3 separate regions of the Homo sapiens genome follow, and all the other regions are linked to region 2. The links are contacts of gene promoters, found by promoter capture Hi-C in blood cells and fetal thymus (Javierre and others, 2016). All regions are on one chromosome and are shown on one strand. The core of a region is centred on a gene start or on the middle of the fragment in contact, and the rest is flanking DNA. Distances in the headings are between cores, read along the strand shown.

Region 1 (3,111 bases), core at 326-2,825, 130 kb before region 2:
CTCCATACCCTAGCAAGGCTGGTACATAGTAGGTGATTAGTCAATGAAAGAAAATTCCTAGCCCCTTTCTGGCATGAAGAAAATGAAAGCAACCAGTTGGGATGTATGGTGCAAAGGAAATTAATGCATTAAGTAAGCTATTGTTTGTCATATACTGATACCCAAAACAATAATAAAATGTGTTTATTTGAGCAAAATATGTCTTTATGAATATTCCTTACTTAAGGCAACTTTCACAGGGTAAATTACATCATCTCCCCAGGAGGCAGCATGCCTATCAGCCTTTATTCACAGTATGTATGGGGTGTTCCTAATATGGCAATTGACATAGGTGAGCTGCAAATCCTTAAAGTAGAGCTAAGTAAACTAGCATTCCTACGCTGTAAGTTCTGTCCAAATTTTCATATCTTAGTCAAAGCACTTCAGAAAAATGAGCATGAATTGTGAACTTGGGGCAAATATGGCAAAAAAGAAACATCAAGTGCACAGTGTGAGAAAGTACTACAGTTCTGTGTCATTTAGAGTTCTTTGACACAGCAACAGACAGACACCCAGCCCAGTGCCCCTAAGCCTTCAGTTGGCGTCAGAGGCTGCTTTACGGATAATGGCACTCCTCAGAGCACCTTTGACATCCTTGTTCCTAAGGCTGTAAAGCAAAGGGTTGAGTAAGGGGGTGACAAAGGTGTAGACCAACGCGATTTGGCTGTCCTCATCCTCTGAGGTGCTGGACCGAGGACGCAGGTACACGAGGCTGCAGCAGCCATACTGCAGCAGGACCACGGTGAGGTGGAAGGAGCAGGTGGAGAAGGCCCGGCGGCGGCCCTCGGCAGAACGGATGCTCAGGATGGCACAGGTGATGAACACGTAGGAGACGCAGATGAGCAGGAAGGGGATGGTCAGCACGAGGATGCTCACGACATAGAGGACAGCCTGGTGCACGCGGATGTCAGCGCAGGCCAGGCGCAGGACGGGAGGCACATCGCAGAGGAAGTGGTTGATTTCCTGGTGGTGGCCGCAAAAGGGCAGGGTGAAGATTAAGGCGGTGAGCTGCAGGGAGGGGAAGAGGGCCAGGCCCAGGGCCCCACCCAGCATCTGCGTGCACAGCTCGCGGGTCATGATGAGGGTGTAGTGCAGCGGGTGGCAGATAGCCACATAGCGGTCATAGGCCATGATCGCCAAGAGGAAACAGTCCGTGCTGCCGAGGGTGACAAAGAAGAACATTTGGGCCCCACATCCAGCCAACGAAATGGGCTTCTGGGCCCCCAAAATGTTGGAAAGCATCAAGGGTACTACCACGGTGGTGTAGCAGAGTTCCAGGAAAGACAGGTTGGACAGGAAGAAATACATCGGGGTGCGGAGGGTGCTGTGTGTGCACACCACCCAGATGATGGCTGTGTTGCCACAGAGGATCATCAAGTAGAGGAGGAGGAAGAGAAGGAAGAGAAGAACCTGGAATTCAGTGGCTGTGGTGAACGCACGGAACACAAACTCAGTGGGCTCAGACTGGTTGAAGACAAGTTTCCCCACAGGCATGTCTTATGCAAAAGAATAGGACGCGCTGAGCTCTTCTTGGCTGAGTTGCTTTATTTCTTTTTTTTCTTTTTGAGACGGAGTCTCGCTCTGTCGCCCAGGCTGGAGTGCAGTGGCGGGATCTCGGCTCACTGCAAGCTCCGCCTCCCGGGTTCACGCCATTCTCCTGCCTCAGCCTCCCAAGTAGCTGGGACTACAGGCGCCTGCCACTACGCCCGGCTAATTTTTTTGTATTTTTTTAAGTAGAGACCGGGTTTCACCGTTTTAGCCGGGATGGTCTCGATCTCCTGACCTCGTGATCCGCCCGCCTCGGCCTCCCAAAGTGCTGGGATTACAGGCGTGAGCCACCGCGCCCGGCCGCTTTATTTCTTTAGTAAAAGCAGGAGTGTACAATTTTATTTGGAATTAACTATTTAGTAGCTAGTTTCCAATCACGGTGCATGAGAATGAATTCACGATATAGGGTTTGGTATACTTTTCCTTGGAAATCCTCATGAATGGGATAGACAGTCATCTGCAGAAATTCCTGGGGGCAAGACATGTAGACACATGTAGATGTTCCTTGTGAAATATCTCCCCCCACCCCGATATTTTCAATCCAATTGATAAGACTTAATTATTTTGCTTGTATTTAATTACAGTGAAGAGTTGTATGGTTGCACATATTTTAAAATTAGATAAATGAATTTGTCTTTTACTTTTTTCAGTAAGCACTCTCATTGAAATATAACATACATGTGGAGGAATTCACAAATCCTAAGTGTGAAGCTTGATTTGTTTATTTATTTTAACATCGTAAATACGCCAGTATAACCACTACAAAGATTAAGAAATAGAACGATTCCAGTGACCTACAAACATCCTTCATGTTCTCAGTCTTTATGCTTCACAAAAGTAACCACTTTTTGACTTTTATCATTACAGATTGATGTAACTATGTTTCAACTTATATATGAAATGCTAAAGCATGTACTTTATTGTAACTGGCTTCAACATTATGTCTGCAAAGGTTATTCTTGTTGTTCTGAATCAATCCTTTGTTCTTTCCATTGCTTTATGGCTATAAGTTATTCACTTTACATTCAGTTATTTTGACTCCACATACAAGTAGGAAAACACCCATTGTTACAATCTTTTCTGATATGTACTCTTCATATATTTCCTCTCTTTTGAACATTTTATCTAAATTTCCAACAGGAAGCTAAACTTTTGGACTCAAATAGTTTCAAATGAAAGGGAAGTGAACAGAGTCAGGTTAAAATTAAAGTGGAGCTTCCTGAGATAAGAAAAGACAATGAGGAAACTAAAAATGCAATAGCACAATTGAATTATGCATTAACATAATCAAGAGAATAAGAAAGACCTTTGCAAGCATCTGGGAAGTTAAAAATACCTGTGAATTAAGCACTTTCAGGTTAGACTACAACTTTATTTTTAATACAAAAATTTAAGAGACAATACAAAATATCTACAGAATTTTAAGAAAAACAAATTGGAGTGAAAGAATTCTGTATCAAAGCCTTAGTGATTTATGTTCAAAAGCAACAGAAAGACTTTCTCAGATTTGGAAGGGCTTAGGAA
Region 2 (2,834 bases), core at 159-2,658:
TATTTTAAATAGCAAACAGAGATTCTTTTATTTCTTTCTCTCAGTTCAAGATGTCTTTGATAGTCATAGGCTAAGTTTAAAAAAAAAAGAATTATCTCTGCCTTTTAATTCTAATATATTATTATTCTAATATAGTTATTTACCATTTATAAATTGTCATATGAACAAGCTGTACCAAATACCTAAAATTATTAATGCCTGAAATATTAGTTTATTAAGAAACAGTAATGACTCATAGTTGGCTAAAATATGACAAGAGACAACACATATTTCATTAAACTCCATGAGAAATTGTCATCGTATTTTTCTAACTCGTGGATACTTAGAACTGTTTCTCAACTAAAGACAAAAATAATATTAGATGAAATTTTACATTCTATATACCATATAGCATTTTAACATTTGAGTTATTGTATAAAGTAGATCTAAGTGAGATAAAATAACATTGTGATGATTTTGCATCATTAAAAGACTGAATCTAGAGAATATTTTGCCTTCTCAACAACCTTCATGAATGCATTCTTCACGTCTTTGTTCCTCAGGGTATAGACTATAGGACTGAGCATGGGGATGATCATAGTGTAGAACACAGATGCAATTTTGTCTGTGTCCATGGAATGACTGGAACTTGGTCGTATGTACATGATGATGACAGTTATATAAAATAAGAAAATGGCAATGAGGTGAGAACCACAGGTAGATAAAGGCTTCTGGTATCCCTTACCTGTGTGCCTCTTAAGAATGGTGATCAATATGAACAGATAGGAAATCAAGGTAACAAGAAGTGCAAAAAAGACATTAAAACTTGATATAAGAACAAGAATCAACTCACTAATGTGTTTCTCAGAGCAGGTCAGAGTAATGACTGCTGGTTTGTCACAGAAAAAGTGATGAATCACATTGGACATGCAGAAAGAGAGGCGAAATGTATCTCCAATTTGGATAGAAGCATTCAGAAAACCAATGACATAACAGCCTATAGCCAGACAAGCACACACACGTGTTGTCATGGTGGTGGTATAATGTAGGGGGTTACACACTGCTGCGTAGCGGTCATAGGCCATTGAGGACAAGAGGTAATTTTCCACAGTGGCAAAGACTGCACAAAAGAACATCTGAGCAGCACAGGCACTGTAGGAGATGGCTTTGTCTTCTATAAGCAACCCAGTTAAAACCTTTGGAGTGACAGCTGAGGAGTAACCAATGCCTGCAAGAGACAGGTTACTGAGAAAAAAGTACATGGGAGTGTGGAGATGAGAGTCCAGCAGGATTAATATGATCATCCCCAGGTTCCCAGTCAGAGTGATGAGGTAGATGAGGGTAAACATGATAAAGAGGGGAACCTGTAGTTCTGGGGCATTGGTTAGACCAAGCAGGATGAATTCACTCACCTCTGTATTATTCTCCATGGATGTTATTTTAGAATCACAAGATACTCTGTAGCAAGGAGAGATAAAAAAGAAAAACCCTGTGATGAACAAAACAGAGTTGCACAAAACTGAAATGTATGTGTTATTTTATTATAGCAATGATTTGTTTTCTATATTTCCTAGATCAAAATTATGGATATGAAAACACAATTTAGTGGATAACTTATCTATACAGTAATAGACTTTTGAAGAAAAAGGGTCTTCGTGGATCATCTTTCCAGCTTCTTAATTTTGTGTCTGAGTAAATGGAGTCATAGGAAGGGAATAATGAGTTGTCCAATGTCACATGCCTGAAGTGAATCTATCTCCCAAATAATATGTTTTTTGAATCTAACATCTTAAACACACTTATAGTTGTCTCATGCCAGATGCTTTATATGTACATCCTCATAGAATTCTCTCATTAATCCTATTATTTAATTAGTTATTATTGCCAATTTATACATGAAGTATCTTGGTAGAAAAAAAGAGTTTGAATAATTTATTCAAGATTACACAAGCACCAGTAGATAGAACCAAGCTTTAGACACAATCAGGGTGGTTCCCAACCTAAATTAAAAGAATTAAAATTCTTTTAATGAATTTGAATTATTTTAAATGTTAATCTATTTATATGTACTCATTCTATCTATTATACCAAGCATAACATATGAAGTTGCATAGTAGAGCAATGCACAAATAAATGCATACTAGATGAAGTGGAATAAATGCAGCATTAATGTCATGTGCAACCAACAAAGCCAATTCTGCAGAGAAGATATAGCATTGGGTATAAAATCTAGGACTCTAAGAAGAGGTAGATTTGTATTAACTCATAAGCCCTAACATTTACTACTTGGGAGACACTGGTCTTAATCTAACTTCCTTGAATCTCATTTTATCCATTAGTCAAATGAAGATGATATTAGGACTTATGTCAAGAGATTATTTTGAGAGTTAAATGAGATAATGCTCAGCTGTTGGCAAAATGTGGGCACTCAGCACAGTCCTGATGAGTGCTAGCTATAATATTATTATTAGGATGGAATGGTGGTGCATATGTTGGTGTAGAACACATAGAGGTGACACACAGGGCTGAAGGTGTGGGTGGGTTTTCAAGTTGGCAGTTTTACTCTGTCTGATCTGTATTTTCTTACACACTATGTCCAGTCTTTTGTTTCCTTCAGCATTTCTCACTCTATCCATTCTTTGCCAGGTGAATGACTGTGTCAGCCATCTAGCATGAGAACCCAGGGATCTTCAAGTCCTGTTGTGTTTAATTTCTCCCTTTCAAACTACATTTTACCTTGTGTTGAAACAATCCCCTTTTATCTTAGACACATTCTTCCTGTCATTACTCTCAACACTTAGCAGGATATCAGATATTGAGGGTTGGAGGTTCGTAGTCTTGGGGGCTGACTGTAG
Region 3 (2,709 bases), core at 79-2,578, 150 kb before region 2:
TATTTTGAAATATATAATAGATTACTGTTTACCATAGTGCCCCATAATGATTTATCAAACAATAGGTCTTATTTCTTCTATCTAACTGTATTGTTGTACCCATTAATCAACCTCTATTCAACTCCACTCCACTTCTCTGCTACTGGGCCCTGGTAACCACCAATCTACTCTCTAAGGATGCGTGTTATTCTTGTGACTTACCATGGCAGTTACAGATTTTGTTTCCAAGACAAGAGCTAAGTGGAAAAGCTCCAATCCCCTTAGAGGTTGGAATAGGAGACAGACATCTGCAAGTTCATCAAAAGTTGAACCGTCACAACTGTGTCATACACTCTGGGCTGAATCATTTATCTGATTATGTGGACTAAAAGAATGTAGATGTCCAGGGCATCAAAGGGAAGAAATTTTTCTATTGATGAGCTTTCTCAGGGCACCTTTCATATCCTTATTCCTCAAGCTGTAGATGAAGGGGTTCATCATGGGTGTCACCACAGTGAATAGGACAGCACCAATCTTATCAGTGTCCTCAGGGTGAGTGGAGGAGGGGAAAAAGTACACGCCTACAGTGGTTCCGTAGAACAGTAATGCAATTGTCAGGTGAGAGCCACAAGTGGAGAAGGCTTTCCACTTTCCCTGTGTGGATGATACTCCCAGGACAGCTCTGATGATGCAGACATAGGAGAAGAAGATGAGTACAAAGGGGAAGATGATAACTGATAAACCCACAATAAACAACACAAGCTCATTGATCATTGTATCTGAACAGGACAGTTTGAGCAGAGGGGCCAAGTCACAGAAGAAGTGTGGGAGAGTGTTGTGGTCACAGAAGAGCAATTGAATGAGCAGAAGGGTGTGTGTAAGAGCAATAATATTACTGAGGAACCACGAGATGACTGTGAGCAAAGTGCCGAACCTGGCCCGCATGAAAGTTGTATAGTTCAGAGGGTGGCAGATCGCCACAAAGTGGTCGAAGGCCATGGTCCCCAAAAGCAAATTGTCAGTGACGACAAACACAATAGAAAAGTACATCTGTGTGATGCAGCTCTCATAAGAGATGGATTGGCTGTTGGTTTGAATATTCACCAGCATTTTGGGGACTGAGTTGGAAATGGAGGAAATATCAGCAAAGGATAGGTAGGCAAGGAAGAGATACATGGGGGTGTGAAGGTATATATCCAAGCTGATAGCCACAATGATGAGCCCGTTCCCAACCACAGTGACCACATACATACTCAGGAAAAGCACAAAGAGGAGGTTTTGATGTTCAGCCTGGTTGGAGAGTCCCAGGAGAATGAATTCAGTGATGGTGGTTTGGTTTTCTTGATGCATATTTCTGCTGATCTGAAGAAAGGAACACAAAGTCTTCATACACCTACAAGAAAATTTAACATGGTGTCATTTGGCTGCAGCCATTACAGTAAGGCACTTCCTTTAAGCTGATGAGCAATAAAGCTTCTTCTGCTTATTAAGTGGAAGTGCTACTTAATAAGGAAGTATTTCAGCAGTGCAGAGATTTGGAAAATGCCACAGAAAAAGACAGGACATGGCAGATTCTTCTCAATGAACATGTTTTAAACTCTAACAGAATTCTGAATGTGATTTTCCCAGTTGGTTCTAAATGTAGGTTAAATCCCCCAAACTGAGGATCATAGGTGAGGCATACCCTATATTCTAGAGATGTTAGGTACATGTGCAGGAATTACTTAAAAGTTACCAAACTGGTCCCCAAATCATCTCCCTTGTTCAACTTTATGCCTTAAATCTAAGAAAGGAGAAATTTCAAGTCTCGTAAAAGTGAAGAGACTGGAGAAGGAAACACAACTAAGGGTTAGGAATGGCTATGGGAGTGTACACCATTGTGTGGGTGCTTCATCCCATTAACGCCGGGGGAGAACTCCAAAACAAGTGCTTTTGGAGAATAAGTACAAGTAGGAGCAATCAGGGTTTTACTTCATCTGTGGCTAGATATTAGCTTCAAGAAAATTTAGGGGGCACAGATACACTTAAAGACTTCTGTTTGCCTCTCATTTCTAAAGGTGAGGGGCTCACTGGATCAGGTCGTGATGGCAGGGTAGAGGGAAAAGATGGTGGTTAGTAGGGCAATCTGCATTTTCACCCATGACATGGCATAAATATGTGAATTTCCCATAGGACACGTGATGCTATAGGAGGTCATTGGAGTCAAGTCACCTTGTTGAGATTCCAATCCAGAGACAGCCTATTGGGGCAGAGGAGGCTGTAGCAATAAGAAACCATGAGGTGGGTCTCTTTTGAAAGAGAGATCTTAAAGAGATCAGGGACATAATTCATTGCCCTTGTCAGGGAACCGCATAATGGGGCAGTCTCCAAAAGGGAGCCTCTGACAATCCTCAAAATGATCTCAAGAGACACCATGCCTGCCACATATAAGGCACAAGCTGCTAGTATCTATGGCAACAGATATGAACACTTTTGCCTTTTTTCCCATCCCCATTCTTCCTCCCTGACCTGATAAAACTGAAAAAGAAGGAAAGACCAAAATGACTAAAACAACAACAACAATAGTAACAACAACGGTTTTGCGGGAAGAGAGGCCAAAGAGCAAGGGAAGAACATATGCTCCCACCTTTCCACTGTATGACCCAAGCTACACATCAGATCTGAACTTACAAGGTAGGACCCATGCTTTGAATTGATAGTGAAGCTGAAGTTTAAAATTGGGCTGGACTT

Evidence for each region. The method cuts DNA at HindIII sites, captures the fragments that hold promoters and counts their contacts. A CHiCAGO score of 5 or more calls a contact.
Region 1: a contact is called between the fragment with the promoter of OR10Q1 here and the fragment with the promoter of OR5B17 in region 2, in 4 of 17 cell types (neutrophils, M2 macrophages, monocytes and 1 more). The highest score is 8.3, in neutrophils.
Region 3: the fragment with the promoter of OR1S2 here is called in contact with the fragment with the promoter of OR5B17 in region 2 in 4 of 17 cell types (M2 macrophages, neutrophils, monocytes and 1 more); the score reaches 5.9 in M2 macrophages.

Annotation. Positions count from the first base shown.
Region 1 is chr11:58,227,343-58,230,453 of GRCh38, forward strand. OR10Q1 (olfactory receptor family 10 subfamily Q member 1) reads right to left here and starts at 1,576. Exons shown (of 1, transcript NM_001004471.2): 1 at 540-1,576. The coding sequence starts at 1,533. The coding sequence ends at 574. The HindIII fragment of the contact is 6,807 bases long and covers 1-2,296 here.
Region 2 is chr11:58,357,661-58,360,494 of GRCh38, forward strand. It overlaps OR5B17 (olfactory receptor family 5 subfamily B member 17), which reads right to left and starts at 1,409. Exons shown (of 1, transcript NM_001005489.2): 1 at 464-1,409. The coding sequence starts at 1,409. The coding sequence ends at 465. The HindIII fragment of the contact is 4,652 bases long and covers 1-1,948 here.
Region 3 is chr11:58,202,814-58,205,522 of GRCh38, forward strand. It overlaps OR1S2 (olfactory receptor family 1 subfamily S member 2), which reads right to left and starts at 1,329. Exons shown (of 1, transcript NM_001004459.2): 1 at 391-1,329. The coding sequence starts at 1,329. The coding sequence ends at 391. The HindIII fragment of the contact is 6,408 bases long and covers 1-1,450 here.